Linked DNA regions of Homo sapiens: region 1 is linked to region 2. Evidence: promoter capture Hi-C in 16 types of primary human blood cells and fetal thymus (Javierre and others, 2016). All regions are on one chromosome and are shown on one strand. Each heading gives the region's core, a stretch centred on a gene start or on the middle of the fragment in contact. The rest is flanking DNA. Distances are from core to core; before and after follow the strand shown. Region 1 overlaps SESN1 (sestrin 1). Region 2 holds the start of SEC63 (SEC63 protein translocation regulator).

Region 1 (6,593 bases), core at 2,959-5,458, 1.1 Mb before region 2:
TATCTCCTAAATTTCAAAAACAAGAGTTTGAGGCATGATTGCCTCCCTCAAGGAACTTAACTACCATACTGGAGAGACAGAATCCACTGTCATCTTCTACACTTCTCTCCCTTCCCATTGTTCCGAAGACTGCCCTCTTGCCTTGCCAAGATTGCCTCAGCAGCCTAACTCATCTCCTTGCCCCTAGTTTTGCCCCTTGCAATATATTTTTCCAAACCTTAGCTGACATGCAAATCTGATGTCACTCTACAGTTTACAACTTTCAGTAACTCCACAGTACCCTTAAGAATGAAATCCGTATTCTTTAATGAAGCTTAACACTCCCTCATTACTGCTTATCTTTTTTTTTTTTTCCCTGTTGCCAGGCTAGAGTGCAATGGTGCGATCTTGGCTCATCGCAACCTCTGCCTCCCGGGTTCAAGCAATTCTCCTGCCCCAGCCTCCAGAGTAGCTGGGACTACAGGCGCACACCACCACGCCCAGCTAATTTTTTTGTATTTTCAGTAGAGACGGGGTTTCACCATGTTGGCCAGGATGGTTTCGAGCTCCTGACCTTGTGATCCGCCCTGCCTCGGCCTCCCAAAGTGCTGGAATTACAGGCGTAAGCCACCACGCCCGGCCTACTGCTTATCTTTTACCTAAACTCCTTCCGTTACTCTCCTTACCCTCTTTTCCAGACCCATTGAGCTTCCTGTATTCTGCTTCCCTAATGGATCACTCTTTCCTTTTTCTGGGCCTCTGCATATGCTAGATCTTTTACTTAGAACTCTGTGTCTATTCTCCCAAACTCTCCCCCAAATTTTCTTTCCAAGGCCTCTCTACTAATACTCTAAGCTGTAGCTCAGGTGTCTTTTTCCTTCAGGAAGCCTATCTTGAACCACCATTCCAAGTGCAGAGTCCCCTAATATTTCATAGTTCTCTGTTAAAATCAAGTCATTTGACACCACTCTGCTTTTACATAGATTATCAGCTTGCTCTTCAGAAAAATAAGGCTGAGTGCATTACTGCTAAGGACAGATGTAGAGGCAATGAACCTCACTTTGATACAGTTGAGTAAGTTGACCAAAATCTTTTTAAAAGAAAGGAAATATTTCAGAATTACTATTACTTCTTGGATTAAATGTCAGGATTCTTCCTGAGCCAAGTTCGTACCACTGCACTCCAGCCTGGGCGACAGAGCGAGACTCCGTCTCAAAAAAAAAAAAAAAAGAAATATCAAAATTAAATGTTTAAATAGCAGACTTTGTAAGGTAGCTCTGGCCTGTACTGACAACCTGTGGTAAATATCAAAAACACAGCCCTTTGTAATCACTGTTCTGTGTTCAGGATGTTCATCTTTTCAGCAGATGTTTATCGCATGCCTGTATGTGCTCAGCCCTAGAGGTTGAGAGGAGCAGCACCTTCAGAACATCAGGCCTACCTTCGAAATCCTTGGAAAATACTTTTTATTGAATTGTTTGAAACAAAACATTTCAAAAGTTAAATCTGCACAATGATAGATGCAGGTTAATTAATACATTTATTGGGCTGGGTGTGGTGGCTCACACCTGTAATCCCAGCACTTTGGGAGGCAAAGGCGGGAAAATTGCTTGAGTCCAGGAATTTGAGACCAGCCTAGACAACATAATGAGACCCTATCTCTACAAAAAATTTAAAAAGTAGCCGGGTGTGGTGGCCTCTGCCTGTAGTGCCAGCTACTCAGGAGGCTGAGGTGGGAGGATCACTTGAGCCCTGGAGGTCAAGGCTGCAGTGAACTGTGATAATGCCACTGCACTCATCCTGGCTGACAGAGCGAGACTCTGTCTCAAAAAAAAAAAAAAAGAAAAAAAATTTTAAAAATACATTTGTTGGAACTCTTGGTTACTGTAAATTTATTTGGAGGCAACCTTTTTATGTTGGAGAATAGAGTGACTAATTCACTCTAGTGCTCTATAGCAGAGAACAAGAAATTAGTACTCTTTGAGGAATTTAGGTCAGTCTTTATAGAGACCATAAAGGAATCTTGACATTTAATGGCTTGAAGGTTCTCCATAAACCACTAAATTAGAATATTAAATTAAAATTATTTTTCTTTTCACATAAGGCAGCATTAAATAATAATTTGAAACTATCTGGGGGAAAAAGGAATCCTAATTGGAGCTTCCTATACAATTTCAGTATATCTGAAATATTTCTTCAATAAATATTTATCAAGCACTAAGTATCAGCCTACTATATGCATGCAGTTAGCAGTTTTCACTTGCATTTACTTATTTTAAGCCACTTTTGATTTAACTGAATGCATGCTTTTCCCTTGCCTCTCATTAGAAAATGGAAAGATAAGCATTCTTCATTTTACAAATGTCATAACTAAGATTATGCCCTACTAGACAACTAAAACTGTGATTCCTTCAGAAATAAAATCATACCTCAACTCTTCTAGAACCAGAGTCATCATTTTTCACATACTTCTACCTAACTAGCTTTTGCAGCTCACAATCCCATACATCAAGTGCATTTATGTGTCCAACTCATTCATTTACAACCAGTTTATCTTGCAGGGTATGTCATATTGCTGCAAATTGCATGATGTACTGGGTTTGTTTTGTTTTTGTATTTGCTTACGGCTGAGTGGGCATTTGATTGTACTGTTTGTTTTTGTGGCTGTGCTCAGTGGATGAGAGCTTGGAAGCCTCTGTAGCCTTTTCTTCTATATCGACATTAACTCAATATTGCTTCTTTTGACCAGTAAAAAATATTTTGGGTGCATTAGCTATTTTTTAAAAGCAGTATAGAGAACATATATCATTTATCTTATTTATTAGGAGATAAATAAAAAGTAACCATTTTGACATGCCACTTTAAACATGATAGTTGAAGAGCTAAAAGAGTAACTTAGTTTTCACTGAGACACGGTAGCGTCACTTCTAAGACTGAAACTTATTTTCATTTATGAGTCCTGTTCTGTGGCCATAACTACTGCTATAAATTCCACTTGTTTCCTTGTCAGAATGTTCCAACTTTTTTTGTTTTTTAACCTGAGCACTTAAGCTTTGAAAACAGCATAAACATGCAAAAAGAGATCTAATTTAGGAATTTGTTTCTTTTAAAGAGAGAGAATAGAGTTATGTAAAGAAATAGTACTGACACAGGACTGGAGGGATCTGGGTTCTGGGCCCAACAATGTCAGTTGTTTTTCTCCTTTGTAACCTGTATTTTCCCAAGTTCCTCATCCGATTTCAGAGATTGAAATTCTGTCTTTATAACCCAGGGAGGGCGCTTATGAAGGAATATTAGAAATTGTAAAGCCTTCGAATATACTTGAGAGGAAAAAAGACGATTCAGAGATAGGCTACCAAGGTTTATTATCTGTGTAGGGGAGTGATATTTATAGCTTTTACGTAGCTTAGCAAAATGAATTTTGCATTGATTATAGGCCAAAGTCCTGCATTCTGCTGCCGATTCAGCGTCGTTTGGGCATTATGGGAAAGGAAGAAGGGAAATTTCAATAGTTTATCGAATTTAGAGAACTTCATTACTCCTGGTGCTGTCAGAATCAGTCTCGAGGTTGGCTGCTGTTTGGTTCTAGGTAAATGGCCGAGCAGGGGTGTAGGGGGCAGATTCCCCTGTCCCTGAAGCCCGAAGACTCGTGCTGCACCTTCCTGACAGTGCACGCTCACCTCGCGGCCCTCCAGAGCCCATTCCGTACCTGAGAATTAGCTGTTCGTGGGGAACCTGGGCCCCCAAGGTGATTTTTCACCTCGCCGCGTCAGACCGCCAGTTCCCAGCCTCCGCGCCGGAGGGGCGGTGCTTTGCGGGGACGCGAGCCCGCATTGGCTTGCGTGGCCGCCAGGGCGGTGAAATGACGGGCGCGGGGCGGGGCCGCGCGGCTTGTTTGTCGGCGCCGCCCCGCCCCCCCGCCGTCCGTGCTGACTGAGGCGCTGCAGCCAGGAGCCGCGGCCGGCTGCCCAGCGCTCGCCGCCTCCGCGCGTCCGCAGCCGTCCCCGCGCCGACATGCGCTTGGCCGCCGCCGCGAACGAGGCGTACACGGCCCCTTTGGCGGTCTCGGGGCTGCTGGGCTGCAAGCAGTGCGGCGGGGGCCGCGACCAGGACGAGGTACCTGGGCGAGGGGCTGAGCGGGCCGCTGGGTACCTGGGCGGGTGGGCACCCGGCCGAGCTGCCCTGTGCAACACGGAGGTCACGTTGCCTCCTCACAGTCGCTCCCGGTCAGCATCCGAAAACGCTCCCCAGATAGGGCGGGCTCCCGGGGAGCAGCGTCCCGGCCCTCCTGCGCCCCTCGGGGGAAGGGGTTGCCTGCGGTGGGTGGGAGACCTGCGCACCGTGAGTCGTCCCTGGGCAGAAAATGCTAAGCTGGGAGAGACTGCGGCCGCGGTCATGTAAATGAAAGTCTCCAATACGTAAATAACATTGTCGTCTGGACAAGTCTCCACAAGTCAGAAATCCAGCAGACCTCGAGTCTTGAGGGTGAAACAGCCTGTGGATATGCCCCCTCGATTGTCTTGTCTTGTGAAAACAGATTATTTAGCCACCTTCATCCCCTTTGCCTCCTACTTAAAAGAGAGAGAAAGAAAAAAAACACATTTGACTCAGGGAAGAGATGATGTTGCCTGGAATAAGTGTGTCCTGCAAGCTCTATGACGTTATGCACAGCGTTTACTCTTGCGTATTAAGCCATCCCTTTTCTGAATTGTCCTTTAGAAAGAGGTACTTAATTGTAACATTTTGTGTTTTTTTCTAAGTGGTTGCAAATAGGAAACCATTTGAAAGTTACTAATGTAACCTTAGGTAAAACTCGAACCTTAAATTTGGATTGAAATCAGGTGCTGTCAGAGTGTTGCCTTAGTTCAAGAAATCTAAATGTGAATTATTTTTTCTGCAGCTTTACTCACTAAAATGACGTGGTTTCGTGATTTCTTTAATGGAGTCTATTATCAGTATACTATGTATATTCATAGAAACTTAAATGAAGACACTTTGTCATGAAGGTTGTAAAGCACCAAATATTTTTTTGAGATTTTAACATTTATGGACATATTAGATGTTCCTTGTTTACAGATAATAAAACAATCTTTAAAAATCTCTTACAGTATCGCTTTGGAAACTTTACCAAAAAGTGAAAACAGTATGAAAGTATTGAATTAACATTTACAGTTTCTGTTTGCGGGTCATAATAGATCTTTTCTCTTTTTGAGTAGAAGTGAGCCCCAATCATCATGCTTGAATAGATCTGTTATTTCTGCTGATGTTTGTGTGCAGAGTCCTGGTTCTTGCTCAGATCTAGAATTTCTAAAGATAGCTTTGTAAACTAAAAGATAAAGAAATAGATTTTGGCTTGCATATTGTTACAGCGCTTATGGGATTGTGTTGAGGAAACCGGGAAGCTTTGTATAGTTGTATTTCATTTTTAATACATCCCAACATGTGAGAAGATAACTTAGGAAGGAATGCTTTATAGGAAAACTATTCACTTTACAAAAAGAATAACACAATTCTTTCAAATAGCTAGCTTCCATAATGCTTTTAAATTAAACACTTTCAAGAAACGGAACTCCTGAGCAAAGTATAGGGCACAAATATGGCCTAAGTATTACAAATGCAGTAACTTAAAGTCAGTAAGTTTTTTTTCTAAAATATAGTTCATAGAAGGCAAAAAAAAAAAAAAAAAAAAGTACCTGGACTTTCAGTATTTCTGAATTACCTATTAGTATTAATGACAATATTAACATAATTGTTAGTACATTTTGCTATAGTAGGCATATTTCTAACACTTCTAGATCTCTCCATTTCTATTTAAATTTTTTGAATGTCGAAAGGCCAGCACCCAGCTATAGGCAATCTCCCAGAGAAGGGCGAGTGGGATGGGAACTTTCACTTTTTATATAACATATCTTTACCTTGTTGAAATGTTTTTCAAAAAACACATGCTGCTTTTGAATTTAAAAAATAAAATTACTGTGAATGTTGTGATAATCACAACAGTAATAGTGTAGCGAGGAAAACAAAATGATTCAAATTATTTGTGTATTTTTACTTCTCAACTAATTTTGCAGGTGGGTAGATACTGTAAGCCAACAATGCTTTCATTTTGCACTTGTCATTCATTCATTATTTCACTTAAGGATATTGATACAGATGCATAAATGTATCTCACAAATTTGAAACATCTGACTGGAACAGTACTTTTCAGTACACAAACATTGATTCATACAGTGATACAATAAAAACATAGTCTTTCTGTGGTACTACTGTCAACATTCACTACGAATTTTCACTCTGAAAATTAGTGTTTTGCATTATACATTGAGGAAACATCAGAAGTAATATTGTGATGGTGGAAACTTGTTGTCTCTTTCAAAGATGGTTATTAGGTTGTTGAGGGGAAAAGATTGTTCTCATGTTAATCTTCCAGCCACACCTTCACAGAGAGCCTGTGAGGTTAGTGCTGTGATTAGTATCTACATCTGCTTTTCAACAAGGCCATTTGTTGGTGGCAGTTCTGTCTCCTAGAATCTGGATTGGCCAAAATTTGTTCAAAGTCTGTAGTTAAGTTTCTTACAGCTACAGATGAAGGAATAATTGAATTAACCTAAATA
Region 2 (6,578 bases), core at 1,865-4,364:
TTTTTTTGAGATGGAGTCTTGCTCTGTTGGCCAGGCTAGAGTGCAGTGGCATGATCTCGGCTCATTGCAACCTCTGCCTCCTGGGTTCAAGTGATTCTCCTGCCTCAGCCTCCCGAGTAGCTAGGCTTACAGGCACCACCACCATGCCCGGCTAATTTTTGTATTTTTAGTAGAGATAGGGTTTCACCATGTTGGCCAGGTTGGTCTTCAATGTGATCCATGGCACCCAGCCATATTAATTTACTTTTATTAAATATCTCACTAAAATAATTTCTTGAAACAATTTTATTAGGTTAAAAATATCTGCTGGGCATGGTGGCTAATGCCTGTAATCCCAGCACTTTGGGAGGCTGAGGTGGGCGGATCACCTGAGGTCAGGAGTTCGAGACCAGCCTGGCCAACTTGGTGAAACCCTGTCTCTACTAAAAATGCAAAACTTAGCCGGGTGTGGTGGTGCACGCCTGTAGTCCCAGCTACTCGGGAGGCTGAGGCATGAGAATCACTTGAACCTGGAGGCAGAGGCTGCAGTGAGCCAAGAATGCACCACTGCACTGCAGCCTGGGCAACAGAATGAGACCCTGTCTCAAAAAAAAAAAAAAAAGTGAATCAGAAATTGCGATTAAATTAATTAAAGGTATGATTAAGATTTGCTTTGGAGAATATTTGGGTGGTCTGAGGTTATCTATGTTCAGTAATATTAAGTTCTAGGATAAATTATATGTATACTTTTGAAAATAGAGGATACATTTTCAAATCTTGAACATGCTTTGGTTAAAAAAATAACATTTTAGATTGATCTGGGGTTTTTTCAAATTGCTATTTCAATTTGGTTCAAGCCACTTTTAGGCATGACCCCAAAGCTGCAGTGAAAATATTATTCCTGCAGAAAGAAAGAAGGGGAGTATTTATCATCAATAACTTATATTGCTACAAGGTTACAAAACTGATGTATTATCTTTAAACAAATGCCCAGCAAAACATAATAGGAGTAATAAAAAAACAGTTCAACATTATTAAAACCGAGGAAGACTTAATAACATATTCAACAAACAAAAGGAACTTCATGATCCTGCTCACTTCAGCTGCAACAAGTCTGTGACTAATTTTCTGTAGCAAGGCAAATTGTTCACTCTGGGTATATCAGCGTTGGGAGATCACAATGCTATGTTGATTTCATAGTTCAACCTTCCCTTCATTTCTTGGTTTTATTTTTTCACCTATAATATAGTTTTGAACTTTGTGCAGAAAAAAAGTGAGGAGGGAAATGCATAGAAATGAATTTCAGAAATTTCCTTTCAAAGTGAGTAGATAGGAAATTTGAAGGGAAGAGAGAATACATATGAACACAATCTATTATGAAGGAAAGCATTACTGATTAAGATACTAGTTTTGAAGACATGAAATGAAAGACAATGAGCAACCAGATTTTTCCTCCAACAATGGAAGGAATATTATAATGCATTTAGTTAACAGAGTATAAAGTATTAAAATGAGTCCTTGAAATATAGTGTAATATTTGGTATTTGCATATTACACTTTCTCCTTTGAAAAGCATTTTCACAATTAGTCCTTTCAATCTCTGCAACCAGGTGGGCTATCCTTTTAACCCAGAGAGGGGCAATGGACTCTGGGATAGACCCCAGCCACAGCTGCCGCTGGACCGTGGGGTCGTTCAAAGATCTGGGCAGAAGTCCAGTTTCCAGCTCAGCGGACACCAGCCTCTAGGGTCCCACAGCCAGGGGAAGGAGAGGCTCCCGAGAGCGACTGCTCCCGCCACCGTCCATCCCTGAAATGCAGTTTCCTGTTCACAACCCGCAGGGAGAATGCCAGTCACTGTCAGGAAATTTTAAGGTCCTGGGCGATGGAGGGTCAAGGGCACACTGGCTTTGTGGCATCAAAATGATATGGGTTTGAATCCTCAGACATTCTTTTACTGTGAGGGACCTTGGGCAGTCTCTCTGGGCCTCAATTTTCTCATTTGTAGAGCAGACATACTTTGCTTTATTCCATGGGGTTTACTGATGACTAAATGACACAAAACAATAAAGGTCTCAGCCTACCGCCTGAAGCTGGTGGTTATAATTAGCAGCTCTGGAATGGGTAGGGAACCATCTGTAACGGCTTGGGGAAATCTTCATCTGCAAGATGGGCACAGCGTAGATTCAAATCTGTCGCCCAGTGGAGAGCGATCCGGTCTCACTGCAACCTCCGCCTCCCGGGTTCAAGCGATTCTCCTGCCTCAGCCTCCTGAGTAGCTGGGATTACAGGCGCGTGCCACCACAGCCGGCTAGTTTTTGTATTTTTAGTAGAGACGCGGTTTCACCATGTTGGTTAGGCTGGTCTGGAACTCCTGACCTCATGATCCACCCGGTCTCCCAAAGTACTGGGATTACAGGCATGAGCCACTGCGCCCGGCCAGATAGTAAACATTGCTTTGAAAACACAACTGCAACCCACACCTCCCGCAACCCACACCTCCCCATCCCCCAATTTTTTTTTTTTTTGAGATGGAGGCGCGCGCCACCACGTCCGGCTAATTTTTGTATTTTTAGTAGAGAGTGGGTTTCACCATGTTGGTCAGGCTGGTCTCGAACTCCTGATCTCATGATCCGTCCGCCTCGGCCTCTCAAAGTGCTGGGATTACAGGCGTGAGCCACTGTGCCCGGCCTCCCACCCCCTATTCTAAATGACACTTGTTTCCAAAATATGGGGGCTGGAGGAGCAGATCCAGAACCCAAGGAAACGTGATCAACCAGGGCAATTAATCCAGAGGGCAGGACAGGCTGAGCCTCAGCTCTTCTCTGAATATCTGGGACCCCTGCGCAGCCAGGTGAACCGCCCGCGACCGCTGCTCCGGCGGGAAGCCTTCTCTGGGATCCTGTACGCCGACGCCCGGAATCCGGCGTGGTGCGCTGGGAAACTGAGCGGTGGAGGAAGGCGGAGCGGTTAGGGGCGGGACCCTAGGGGAGGGGTTGGGGGAGGGCTTTGACGTTAGGGCGGGGCTAAGGGCGAGACCTCGCCGAGTTCCACCGTTGCGCTCGCCACGTCTCCCTTAGCGAGCTCGCTGGGGACACGCAGGGGGAGGGAAAACTGAGCGGGGCGGGAACTATCTCCTCTCGCGAGAGCTGGCGACGGCGGCGGCAGCGGCAGAGGTGGCGGCGGCGTGTCCGTGAGAGTGGCGTGGGGGCGGGGAGGAGAGGCGGCGGCGGCAGTGTCCAAGCTACGCCACTCGGGCCGGGGCGTTGGGAGCGGGAGTGCAGAGCGTGGTCGTGGCGGCGGCGGTGAGAAGAGCGAGGCGGAGGAGGGGGTGCCATGGCCGGGCAGCAGTTCCAGTACGATGACAGTGGGAACACCTTCTTCTACTTCCTCACCTCCTTCGTGGGGCTCATCGTGATCCCGGCGACATACTACCTCTGGCCCCGAGATCAGAATGCCGGTGAGTCCCGCCGGCCTTTGCCCGCGAACCCGCGCAGGCCCCGCCAGCGCCCCCAGGCCCTGCGGCGCCCGCTTGCCCGGCCCCAGCCCGCGGCGTCCGGGATGACAGGGACGGTGCGGCCCGGCCTGTGTCCAGCGTCCGCCACTGGCGGGGCCCGGGTCAGCAGCGTTTCCCTCGGCGCTTCTCCACCTCCCTTCATTGTCCTCAGGAGTTTCGCTCGCTCCATCTTCTCCATTGTTGTGGACGCTCCTTGCAGCCTCCTCCTGCCTCTTTGTCTTCTCTGCCTTTGCTTTTATTGGGGATTTTTCTTTATGGAGGAAGCGGGATGGGGACTTGGGAGGTGAGCAAAGAGTTGGCCAAGAAGAGACTGAACGTGCGGGCACAACTCTCAGTCCGTCCAGTTCGCGGCCCTCATCCCCCGACTCCGGTTTCCCTGTTGCAGCTGCTCTTAACAGATGTTTTAGGGCATCTCTGAGCCGGGTGGCATGCTTAGGACTCCAATTGAGCTTTCCACCGCCTACCCCCGTCACTTCCTCCCGTTGCTTTTTCATTTGTTCACTCACTGTGGGGGTTGGAAGCAATGCCGTTATTCCTCTTAGCAAAAATAGGCTTTTTTCTATTTCCTTTTCTTCGGAGTTTCCTGTTTGTGACGGAAAAAGTGCAAGTATGAAGGATTAAGTCTCGTTTAATTAATCTTGTAGGGAATTTTGAGGTAGTGGGTCGATTTACTTTTGGTTCTAAGTCTTTTCACATTAAACAACATCGAATTAAAGCACAGAATAACAGATTCTTTTCATATTTCACTTGATGTTTGGGTAATGTTTGCATCCATTTGTTGCACTCTACTAGGACATATGGCAGATGGTATTCTTAAAGCTGATGTAACTGCGAGGGCCTAATGGGTTATTTATGGTAGTGTTAACAGTAAGGAGTGGGTTTTGAGTATTAACAACTTAGGGAAAGCTTTCTATTGCACAAGAGCTGTGCTAACTTGCTTAAATATCTTCTCTTCAATTGGGTGTGCTGGAGGTCTAGGTTGTCCAGGTTATATACTCTACTTGGAGAAGTTGTTAACAGTGAAGCCTTGAATCAGCTCAGAACTTGTTATACTTTCAGATGGATTCAGTGTCCTGTAACATTCTTTTTCCCCCCCGCCCCATGTGATCTGCAGGAAACTAACATTCTTGACTTGGAATAGAACTAAAATAAATTTAGGATAAATAGTAACAAAGGATTGCATCATTTTGTACGTTTGACAATAAGTTTAAAAATCCATTAGATGCAAAAATCTGTCCAAAGTTACTAGTCTTAATACTTTTTTTACTCAATGGGTAGTTTATGAAATTTGGATCTTGGACTGTTGTGCCTTATTTCCTAAGTGCATTTAAATTGTGTAGGTTCTTCCTCGATGTTGAAAAAGGAAAAAAAATTGGGTAGGTTCTTTGGGCAGTGATTGTGTATAAGTGAAGTCTTAATGCTGTAATGGCTTTTCTTATCTGCAAACCTAGGCCATTCTTGTGGTTGTTGTATTTCAAGTTAAAAGGGTACACTTTTCAGTAGTTTATTTTCACCTAACAGCCATTATGTGTGCAATTGGTAGTGTAGAAAACAAAAAGGTATTGGGAGAGTAGTCGGTGGGTTTGGCCAGAATGTGTTTTGATCAGGCAGAACAAAGGTATAAAAAAAAGTGTTTTGAGAAACTGCCCTGATTTCAGAAATTAGCCATCATTTTTTAATCTACATTGGATTTTTAAAGTTGTTCTTTTTTTCTTTTTAAAGCGGGGAGAGTCTCATTTACCCAGGCTGGTCTTGAACTTGCTTCAAGTCATCCTCCCGCTTCAGCCCCCCGAGTAGCTGGCCTTACAGACTTGAGCCACTGTGTCAGGATGGATTTTTGAAATTTGAAAGTCATATTTTCATGGTGAGTTTCGTATTATAAAATTCACCTGATTTCATAGAAGAATCATACTATTTATTTATTTATTTATTTATTTATTTATTTAGAGACAGAGTCTCACTCTGTTGCCCAGGATGGAGTGCAGTGGCTTGATCTTGACTCATTGCAGCCTCCACCTGCTGGGTTCAAGCAGTTCTGCCACAGCTTCCCCAGTAGCTGGGATTACAGGCGTGCACCACCAGGCTTGGCTTATTTTCGTGTTTTTAGTAAAGATGGGGTTTCACCATGTTGACCAGGCTGGTCTCCAACTCCTGACACCAAGTGATCTGCCCTCCTCGGGCTCCCAAAGTGCTGGGACTACAGGCATGAGCCACCACGCCCTGCCAACAAGTCATACTTGACCCCCTTCAGCATGTAAGTGTCTTTGAAAAAGTGGTGGTAGTTTAGGTGGAGGGAATTAATACTATTTGTAAATCATGGACTTCAACTTTTACTTTATTTAATCTTCTTAAAAATGCAGTGAGGTTGGCCGGGCATGGTGGCTCACGCCTGCCGTGGCTCACTTTGGGAGGCCCAGGCGGGCGGATCACCTAAAGTCAGGAGTTCAAGACCAGCCTGGCCAACATGGTGAAACCCCGTCTCTACAAAAATACAAAAAGTTAGCTGGGAGTGGTGGCGGACGCCTGTAATTCCAGCTACCCGGGAGGCTGAGGCAGGGAGAATTGCTTGAACCCGGGAGCTGGAGGTTGCAATGAGCCGAGATCGTGCCACCACACTCCAGCAATGCAGTGAGGTAGGTTCTATTATTATCTCCATTTACAGGTAAAGAAACTGAGGGTAGAGCATGTAAGTAATTTTCCTGTATGGTTGAACTGGGATTAGAACATTGGTCGCTTAGCTTCAGAGCCCTGTGTGGTTTCCATACTGCTAGATAGAAAGTTAGGTGAACTATTATGGGTGTCAGTTTGCCCGTTTTACATCCGGCTCTCTGCTTCAGGCTTGCCTTAGTCCATATGCATATTTTGATGTATTTGTTTGCTCTTGCTCAAAATTGTGTTATGAAAATTAAGGTGAATACTTAAATGCTATTCTAATCATTATGAAAATTGTTGGGCACCACTTGGACTTTTTTCTTGGATTTACCCTAATAACTTGAGTTGTTTCTGTGGAATTACAGTTGTAGTAAAAGGATGTTTTCATCATAGTGACTTTTTTTCTGCAGCCCAGTTGCAGTATCTTGAATAT

The links. The method cuts DNA at HindIII sites, captures the fragments that hold promoters and counts their contacts. A CHiCAGO score of 5 or more calls a contact.
Region 1: a fragment that was not itself captured here is called in contact with the fragment with the promoter of SEC63 in region 2 in 1 of 17 cell types (fetal thymus); the score reaches 5.0 in fetal thymus.

What each region holds. Positions count from the first base shown.
Region 1 is chr6:109,006,861-109,013,453 of GRCh38, reverse strand. All of the region lies in intron 1 of SESN1 (sestrin 1), which reads left to right. It also overlaps a transcript of ARMC2 not described here. Among named protein-coding and RNA genes, the nearest start is that of SESN1, 85 kb to the left of the region's middle. RefSeq lists enhancers at 3,524-3,643, 3,654-3,703 and a silencer at 3,774-4,153. The HindIII fragment of the contact is 2,351 bases long and covers 3,033-5,383 here.
Region 2 is chr6:107,954,744-107,961,321 of GRCh38, reverse strand. SEC63 (SEC63 protein translocation regulator) reads left to right here and starts at 3,114. Exons shown (of 21, transcript NM_007214.5): 1 at 3,114-3,436. The coding sequence starts at 3,313. RefSeq lists enhancers at 1,871-2,471, 3,074-3,675 and a silencer at 2,912-3,451. The HindIII fragment of the contact is 6,986 bases long and covers 1-4,401 here.